Linked DNA regions of Homo sapiens: regions 1 and 2 are each linked to region 3. Evidence: promoter capture Hi-C in human tissues and cell types (Jung and others, 2019). All regions are on one chromosome and are shown on one strand. The core of a region is centred on a gene start or on the middle of the fragment in contact, and the rest is flanking DNA. Distances in the headings are between cores, read along the strand shown. Region 1 holds the start of TINAGL1 (tubulointerstitial nephritis antigen like 1). Region 2 overlaps SPOCD1 (SPOC domain containing 1). Region 3 holds the start of TMEM39B (transmembrane protein 39B).

What was found. The method cuts DNA at HindIII sites, captures the fragments that hold promoters and counts their contacts. A contact is called where the count stands out against the background at its distance.
Region 1: a contact is called between the fragment with the promoter of TINAGL1 here and the fragment with the promoter of TMEM39B in region 3, in 1 of the 25 tissues and cell types used here (spleen).
Region 2: a fragment that was not itself captured here is called in contact with the fragment with the promoter of TMEM39B in region 3 in 1 of the 25 tissues and cell types used here (spleen).

Annotation. Positions count from the first base shown.
Region 1 is chr1:31,575,182-31,577,881 of GRCh38, forward strand. TINAGL1 (tubulointerstitial nephritis antigen like 1) reads left to right here and starts at 1,334. Exons shown (of 12, transcript NM_022164.3): 1 at 1,334-1,414; 2 at 1,953-2,277. The coding sequence starts at 1,968. It overlaps LOC105378626 (a long non-coding RNA gene), which reads right to left. Exons shown (of 6, transcript NR_188671.1): 1 at 2,663-2,700; 2 at 229-489. RefSeq lists an enhancer at 1,145-1,865. The HindIII fragment of the contact is 21,101 bases long and covers 1-2,700 here.
Region 2 is chr1:31,792,979-31,795,678 of GRCh38, forward strand. SPOCD1 (SPOC domain containing 1) reads right to left here. Exons shown (of 16, transcript NM_144569.7): 11 at 1,146-1,257; 12 at 769-919; 13 at 300-450. Among named protein-coding and RNA genes, the nearest start is that of SPOCD1, 22 kb to the right of the region's middle. The HindIII fragment of the contact is 6,745 bases long and covers 1-2,700 here.
Region 3 is chr1:32,071,509-32,074,208 of GRCh38, forward strand. TMEM39B (transmembrane protein 39B) reads left to right here and starts at 1,431. Exons shown (of 9, transcript NM_018056.4): 1 at 1,431-1,543. The coding sequence starts at 1,540. RefSeq lists an enhancer at 830-1,435. The HindIII fragment of the contact is 13,852 bases long and covers 1-2,700 here.

The DNA.
Region 1 (2,700 bases), core at 84-2,583, 500 kb before region 3:
CTAGGGGTAAAGGAGTGGGCTGGTGGCAGGCAGGGAGCCTGTGTTCTGGCTGCACGACCTCAGGCAAGTGCATTCTTCTGAGCCTCAGTTTCCCACCTAGGCTTTGTCCTCCCAGGTCCCTGCAGGGAGCAGATGGGCAGCTCCTGGGTGTGTTAGTGCCAGTGCTGGGGCCCCCGGATATTATCCCTCCACCCCCACCACCAGGGCAGGACCCCCTTGGTGACTCACCACCCAGTGGTCCATGGCAGGGGTAACCCAGCCACAGGTGCCGGTGATCCTCGGCTCTCTCCCTTCCCCCAGGGTCTGGCCAGCTGAGGATGCCCCTTGGTTTGGGGGAGGTTTGCAGGGAGGTCAGTGGGAGGGCAAAGGGAGTCCCTGATGCCTTCCCCGGGGCCACATGTGAGGCTCAGGCCTGGGCCTGGGAGGGTTTGTCCAGGTGTAGTCTCTTTTATCCTCTTTGCTGGTAGAGACCTCTGGCCTGGGCCCAACCTGTTGAAGAGAGGGCGTTGCACAATAGGGAGGTAAAAGGTGACGGCAGACCTGGCGGGACAGAAGCCCCATTGTTTGGGTCCCAGGCCAGCCTGGGCAAAGAAAGGTTTATGCCTGCGGCAGGAAGGAGGGCCTCTGCAGGGGGTGCCAGCTGGTAGGGCCCTTGCCTTTGGACCCTTGGAGGGGGACAGGTGCCAAGCAGGATGCCCTTGGGTTTGCTAGAGAGGGCAGTGCTCGTCTAGGGGCCCAAGCAGGCAAGGGAAGGCAGACTCAACAAGGGATCAAAGGGTGCAGAGGCCACCCCCACACCCTGCCCACCTCCCAGGGATGAGCCGCCCAGGGCACCTAAGGATCATACTCCTGGAATTCCAATCATTCCTAGGAGCTGGGGTGGCTAGGGGGGCGGCACCCAAGCCTAGGGGGCACAGTGGAGAGGGGTGTGCATGGCTATTTTTATTACCGAGGGGTCAGGAGAGGCTTACAGAATTTTGCCTCACATGCCCTCCCCATCATTTCCCAAACTTGTGTCCATAACCCAGAGCTCGGCTGCCCATATCCCCCCTTCTCCACCAGAGCCCCTCAGCTCCACAGGGATGCCCACTGTGAAGTCCTTCCCAGTGTGAAACCGCAATCCTTCCTGCTTGGGGTTCCCCTAAGGGAACGGCTTCCGCCACAGGAGACCCAGCCAGGACAATCGTGTGCTTGTCGTTTCTCCACCCTGCAAGCCCATGAGTTGTGGGGTAGTTACTCCAGGTACAAGCCAGGCGCCCCTCCCTTCCGCCACTGCTGGGGCGGTGCAGAGGGCGGGCGGTACAAAAAGCGCCCCGCCCCGCGCTCCTCTCTTGACTTTGAGCGTCCGGCGGTCGCAGAGCCAGGAGGCGGAGGCGCGCGGGCCAGCCTGGGCCCCAGCCCACACCTTCACCAGGTAGGGACGCTCCCCTGCTCAGAGGGCGGAAGGTGTAGACAGAGAAGAAACAGGGGGAGGGGGCAGGTAGAGGAACCAAGACAGATGGCAGAGAGAGGGACAGTGGAGGGGGACAGAGGGACACAGGAACAGAAGAGAGGTGTACCCAAAAGACCGGGGGAGACAGGAAAGCACAAAGTCAAGGACCCAGGTCAGGGATGGAGGCTGCTGGAGGGCAGAGAGACCTAGGACAGGAGAGAAGACCTTGGGTCCACAGGATGAGTGTTGGGTGGGAGCACCAAGAATGCCACCACCCTCATTTCCTTGTCCTTGAAGGTCCCTGCCTAGGTCAGGGAGGGGCTCCGTTTCTGCCCAGTCCCCATCCCCCTATAGCCAGGGCCCACACACTGGGGCTCCTCTGCCCGTGTCCTGCCTGGGGACTCAGGAATCGGGATCTCCCTCCCTGCTGGGCCCTCTTGAACTCACAGCTCCAGGAAACTGGGAGACTCATCCCTGGTGTTCCAGGGAGTCTCTGCTGCCCACCATCTCTGCCCCCCAGGGCCCAGGAGCCACCATGTGGCGATGTCCACTGGGGCTACTGCTGTTGCTGCCGCTGGCTGGCCACTTGGCTCTGGGTGCCCAGCAGGGTCGTGGGCGCCGGGAGCTAGCACCGGGTCTGCACCTGCGGGGCATCCGGGACGCGGGAGGCCGGTACTGCCAGGAGCAGGACCTGTGCTGCCGCGGCCGTGCCGACGACTGTGCCCTGCCCTACCTGGGCGCCATCTGTTACTGTGACCTCTTCTGCAACCGCACGGTCTCCGACTGCTGCCCTGACTTCTGGGACTTCTGCCTCGGCGTGCCACCCCCTTTTCCCCCGATCCAAGGTGGGCACTAAGATGGCCAGGAGGGTGGGTCACTTTGTCCACCTCAGACTCAGCAAGGCTCAAGAGCAAAGCTGATGGATGCACTGACATTTCCAGGGGAAGCTCTGTAGAATCTGGGACTCTTCCCTGCCCCTCTGGGAACTTTACTCTCCAGCAAGACTGAAGAAGCTCCTTGGTTAGAATTCTAATTTGGCCCAGGGAAAGGGCAACCTCCCACATTTTCTCCCAATCCTGTCTCTTTTCCAGACACGGAAGGTGCTGGCCGCACCTGCTGACTCACTCTTGGGCTGATAAGGCACATATGGGTTGGTGAGGGTCATCTTAGCCATTTTTCTGCCTTTGCTGAGGATTCTAGGATCCTGTGCCCCGAGATGGCTGCTCATACCTGGGAGATGGGTCAAATCTTTTCCTGCTTTCAGCCTC
Region 2 (2,700 bases), core at 12-2,511, 280 kb before region 3:
CCTCCTCTATCCTCTGCTCTCATCCGACACTTTAGCTGATCATTAAGTCACTCAACGATCACTCCTAAAACCCTCCTTTGGGCCCTTCTTGCTATGGGTGACAGGGAGTCCTTCACCCTGTTTGTCTCTGTAGGAATGGGACCAACATCTCATTTGCCCCCATGCCCTGCACAGGGCCAGGCACAGAAAGGGGTGCCCATGAATTGTTTTAGAATGCATGAGTGAAAGAGAGAGAGAGAGAGAGGCTGCCTGGGCTGGTCAGTGTGTAAGGGAATCCCTGGCGAGGAGGGCAGGTGCACCTGGACAAGCCGACAGCTGTGTCCCGAGACCAGCTGGGCCCTGGCCCGGAACCGCTTGATGGAGAACATGTCCAGAACACCTTCCCAGGGTGGCAGGCAGGGCAGGGCCTTTGTGGGTGCAGCAGGCACATGGAGCCCAGATGGAGGGACCCTAGAGGGAGGGACAGAAGACAGGGCCAGACAGAGCAGGCCATGAGGACTTCCCCGGCACCTCCTTTCTTTTCAGAGCAGATCCTGTGTCCCTACTGTGGGGACTGGAACACTGGCCCAAGCTTGGCCTTGTGCAGGGGGCTGCCAGGAGGCTGGGATGATTAGTTCCATTGCACAGATGGGGAAAGTGAGGTTCCCAAGGGAGGGAAGACTTGCCCAAGGCCACACAGGAAAAGCCAGTGCTATGTCTGTTGCACCAGGTGGTGGCCTCCCCCTCAACCCTGCTGGGTTATCCACCTCCCTGCTCCCAACCCCACACCTGTCCTGTGGTTCCGTGGGAGACAACTCCCTGGTTTTGGGCATCTCTGGAGCAGGCATAGGAGTTTGGCTTAGGGCTTTCTGGAAGATATTGTCCCCGCAGCTCTTGGCGGCTTCGAAGGAGCCTAGCAGCTCATTCGAGGGCTCCCAGTCTGCAAATAGCAGAGGCAGGAGCTGAAACAGGGGCAGCAGCAGCGCTGAAGCCAGCCCAGGGCTTTAGAGCCAGGGTTGAACCAGGTTCTTTTCTAGGTGACCTGGGGCACGGGCACCCCTGCTCTGCCACCCTCTCCCCAGGCCACAAATCCCTGTTGCTGCTGAACTGCACGCTCAGCCCCAGCCTGGCTGCCACCCCTGCACCCCTCCCGTGTCCCCTCCCACCCTTGCAGATGTGGCAGTTGGGGTCTAAGAAGTGGTGGTCATGCTGCCCCGTGGTGTCCTCTGATGCGATGGGCAGGGCCTGTGGGCTGCAGTCCATGAACATCTGCGGTCCCTGGGAGGCAGAAGACAGAGGGGCAGGCTGAAAACGTGGCTGGGGGTGCCCGGAGGCCTCCATGGGTAGGGGGCCCCAGGATGTGGTTTATTTTTCTCAATAATAAATGTTGTTTTATTACCAAAATACTGTGAACTCATAAAGAAAATTTGGAAAACACCAAAACTTGAAAATTAAAAAGAAAATCACTTCTTGTCACACCACTCAGAGACCACTGTTGATATCCTGGGTATTCCTTTACAATCTTTTTCTTTTTTTTTCTTTTCTTTTTTTTTTTTTTGTTTGTTTGTTTGTTTTTTGAGACAGAGTCTTGCTCTGTTGCCTGGGCTGGAGTGCAGTGGCTCGATCTCGGCTCACTGCAACCTCCACCTCCCCGGTTCAAGCGATTCTTCTGCCTCAGCCTCCTGAGTAGCTATAGGCGTGTGCCACTATGCCCAGCTAATTTTTGTATTTTTAGTAGAGACGGGGTTTTACTATGTTGGTTGGCCAGGATGGTCTCCATCTCTTGACCTCATGATCCACACGCCTCGGCCTCCCAAAGTGCTGGGATTAAAGGTGTGGGCCACCGTGCCCAGCCCTTTATAATCTTTTTCTATACACAGGGTTTGGGGGTCCTTTTCCTGAAACAGCTGGGATCATATATTCAACTTGGTGTTCTCTTTTTGTTCACTAATAATAGCAGAGGCATTTGTCACATCATATAGTCCCCGTAGACACTGCTGTGATGGGGTGAGACTGGAGTGGACGTCTCACCTCTGTTGCTATACATTTGGGTCATTTCCAGGTTTTCACTATTACTAAATAGCACTGAGGACATTTTTTGTGCAGAAAGTAGTTTCCTAAACTTTAAATTATGTCCTTAGGACAAGATTTCAGAAGCAGATGACAGAATCAGGGAGAAGGAACATTTTAAAGACTCTTGACGTCTATTGCCAAATCACTTTTTTTCCTCATACTAGAAATAGCTTTAAACATAAAACAATCATTGCTTTAGGAAGGTTTAAAGAGATTTTGAAACTCTACTCTTATCAGCCACCTCCAGAACAGTCTCAAAGCACAGGCTTTGGAGTCAGCCAGCCTGGGTTCAAATCTCAGCTTCCCCACTGCACATATGTGACCTTGGTGCCAGGTTCCTCATCCCAGAAATGGGCAGGGAATAGCACCAACCTCCTAGGCCATTGTGAGATGTGAATGAGACACTGCTTGTAAAAGGTGCACACAGTAGGTGTTCAATAAACAGTAAAGATAGCTATCATGTGTTATTTTCCCCTCCCCTCCCCTCCCCTCCCACCTCCTCTCTCTCTTCCTCTCTGGGGCTATCTAGGTCTTTCTCCTACATTGCCATTCAGTTTGTTCAGGGAATACAAACTGATTTAGACTGAGGAGCAGCCACACCCCTTAGGGATCCTCTTGGCACAGGTAGAGGTTCTCCCAGTCGTTGGC
Region 3 (2,700 bases), core at 181-2,680:
GTGCCTGTAATCCCAGCTACTTGGGAGGCTGAGACAGGAGAATCGCTTGAACCCGGGAAGCGGAGGTTGCAGTGAGCCGAGATCGTACCACTGCACTCCAGCCTGGGCAACAGAAAGGGAGACTCCAGTCTCAAAAAAACAAAACAAAACAAAAACAAAAATTAGCCGGGCATGGTGGTGCACGCCTGTAATTTCAGCTTGTTGGGAGGCTGAGGCAGGAGAATCGCTTGCACCCAGCAGGTGGAGGTTGCAGTGAGCCGAGATCGAGCCACTGCTCTCCAGCCTGGGCAACAGAGACTCCATCCCCTCAAAAAACAAAATAATAAAATAAATACACCCTCCTGCCTGAGGGACCTTGCACTAACTATTCCCTCTGCCTGAAATGCCCCCTTTCTCCAGAAATCTGCACCACTGACTCACTCATTTCCTTCATGTGTTTACTCAAGTCAACTCTGAAGCCTGCTCTGCCTGCCCTATTTAAAACTGCAACCCCATCCCCCTTTCCTGTTTTTCCTTCACACCATTCCCATCTAACATACTACAGAATTTACCAATTTTGTTCATGTCTATCTCCTCCCACTTGACTGTAAGCTCTATGACTATTAATGAAATATCTACTAATTCATTCAATTAATTGAATACTGCTATTAAGTGCCAAGCACTGTGCTAAGCAATGGAGCTACAAGATGACTAAAACTGCTTGTAGGTCTTGTGAGGGAAGAATCCTAATGACAATAAATGTAGCTCATTTAGTCAATGCTTCTCCAAACATCGTGATGGCTAATACTAAAACAGACTCAGTTCTGCATGCTCTATTTCATTTAACCCTCACCGAAACCTACACGGTGACCATCAGCAGCCTCATCGTAAAGCATAAAAAAACAAGATTGCAAGGCTGGGAAATGGCAGTCAGGATCTGAACCACGGTGTTGACAATGAGAACGGTGAGTAACGTCAAATGTGAGAAATATTTAGGACTTAGGCTCACAAAGACTAAGGCAAAGATCGGATGTGGGGGCCGAGGGAGGGAGGAAATGACTCCTGGATTTTGACTGGGGTGGACTAAAGCGCAGTGAGGCCTAAGAGAAGGATGAAGCGCAACGTGGGGCTGGGCTGGAGGTGCCTGCGGACCGGTCAGGGATATGGTCCACCCCTAGGGGAGCGGAGAGGCGGCTCCGCACCCTCCTCCGGTCGCCGCCGCCCCGGTCCAGGAGATGCTGAGAGAAGACACGCACGGGAAGAGCAGGAGGTGGGTTCCGTTCCCCTCCCTCTTGAGTCTCTTCACCAGCAGCTGCAGGAAGGGCGTGGGGGACCGAGAGACAAAGAGCGCGCAGGCACCGCCTCCGTCCGGGCGGCCCCTTTAAGAAGCGCGCGCCAGCTTCCAGCCCGCCTTGTATGCAAATGTAGCGGCGCGGCGGGAGCGCGCGGCTGATACCCGGGACTGGGCTGCGGCGGTTAGTCCTCTCCCGGCCGCCGTCGCCTCCGACATATTGCCCGCAGGAGCTGCGGCGGCGAAGCGGAGAGCACCGGGGGGAGGAGATGGGTGAGCAGAGCGGCTCAGGCTCGGCCTGGCAACGAGCGGGCGCACGGGTTAGGATGGCCAGGCTGCTAATTGCTGCTCCACGCGGACAGGAGCCCGGTGACGGGAGGGGGAGGGGATGCGAGCGCAGACGGGATCCCGCCCCCTCCTGTCGTTTTGCGGGGTGGGGCCTCTGTTGTGGGGGCGGGACATTGGACGGTGGGCGGGGCTTCTAAGACGAAGCCCTGTGGGGGCTTGGGCTTTCGTGAGGACCAGCTCGTCGGGGCTAGAAAGGGGGGCGGGACTTACCAGTGGGCGTGGCTTCAGCGCTAAGGGTGGAGATTCTGGGCAGGGGGCGCTAGTGCAGTCGGCGTTTCTGGGTTGGAGGGGTTACACTGGGGGCGGTGGAGCGGGGAGACTTCCGACTGAGGGAGCCCATTCTGGAGTGGGGCTTCTGGGCTGAGAGGGCTTTTATTGGCTTGTGGGCGGGGTTTCTGGGCTGACAGTTGTGTGTAGGCGGAGCTTCTGGGCTGAGGGGCTTTATGTGGGTGCAGAGCTTCTAAAGAGAGGAGAGTGGGTGTGGGCAGAGCTTCTGGACTGGACTAAGGGTGTTTGTGTGGGATTTTCTAAGCCAAGTATAACAGCGTATGAACAGAGCTTCTGGTCTGGGGGTTTATGGAGGGCAGAGCTCTTCGCCAGGTACTTTTTAGAGACTTGTGGAGGTTTATAATTTTGGGCATACATCCAAGCCCAAAATTGGCTCCGAAGTGTGGGAAACGCTTCCGAGCTGAGATGCTACGGCGTGGGGTGTATGTGAATGGAGGCTGCTGTGTTACTGTGAAGAGGTATGAACAGGTTATAACTTTTTAAAAATATGTATATGTATGTATATATATTTTTTAATAGAGACCGGGTTTCGCCATGTTGCCCAGGCTGGTCTCCAACTCCTGGTCTCAAGCGATCCTCCCGCCTCGGCCTCACAAATTGCTGAGATTACAGTCGTGAGCCACCACACCCAGTCAGGTTGTGACTTTTTTAGGTGCTTAGGAGCTTTGTGCAGAACTTTTGTGCGAAGTGGTGCGTGGGAGCTTGGGCTAGACTGCTCAGCCTAGTAGGTCCAATTTTTCAGTCCACAGCCACAGGATTCTCCCAGCCATATCCTTGACCCTTTATTTAGGCCC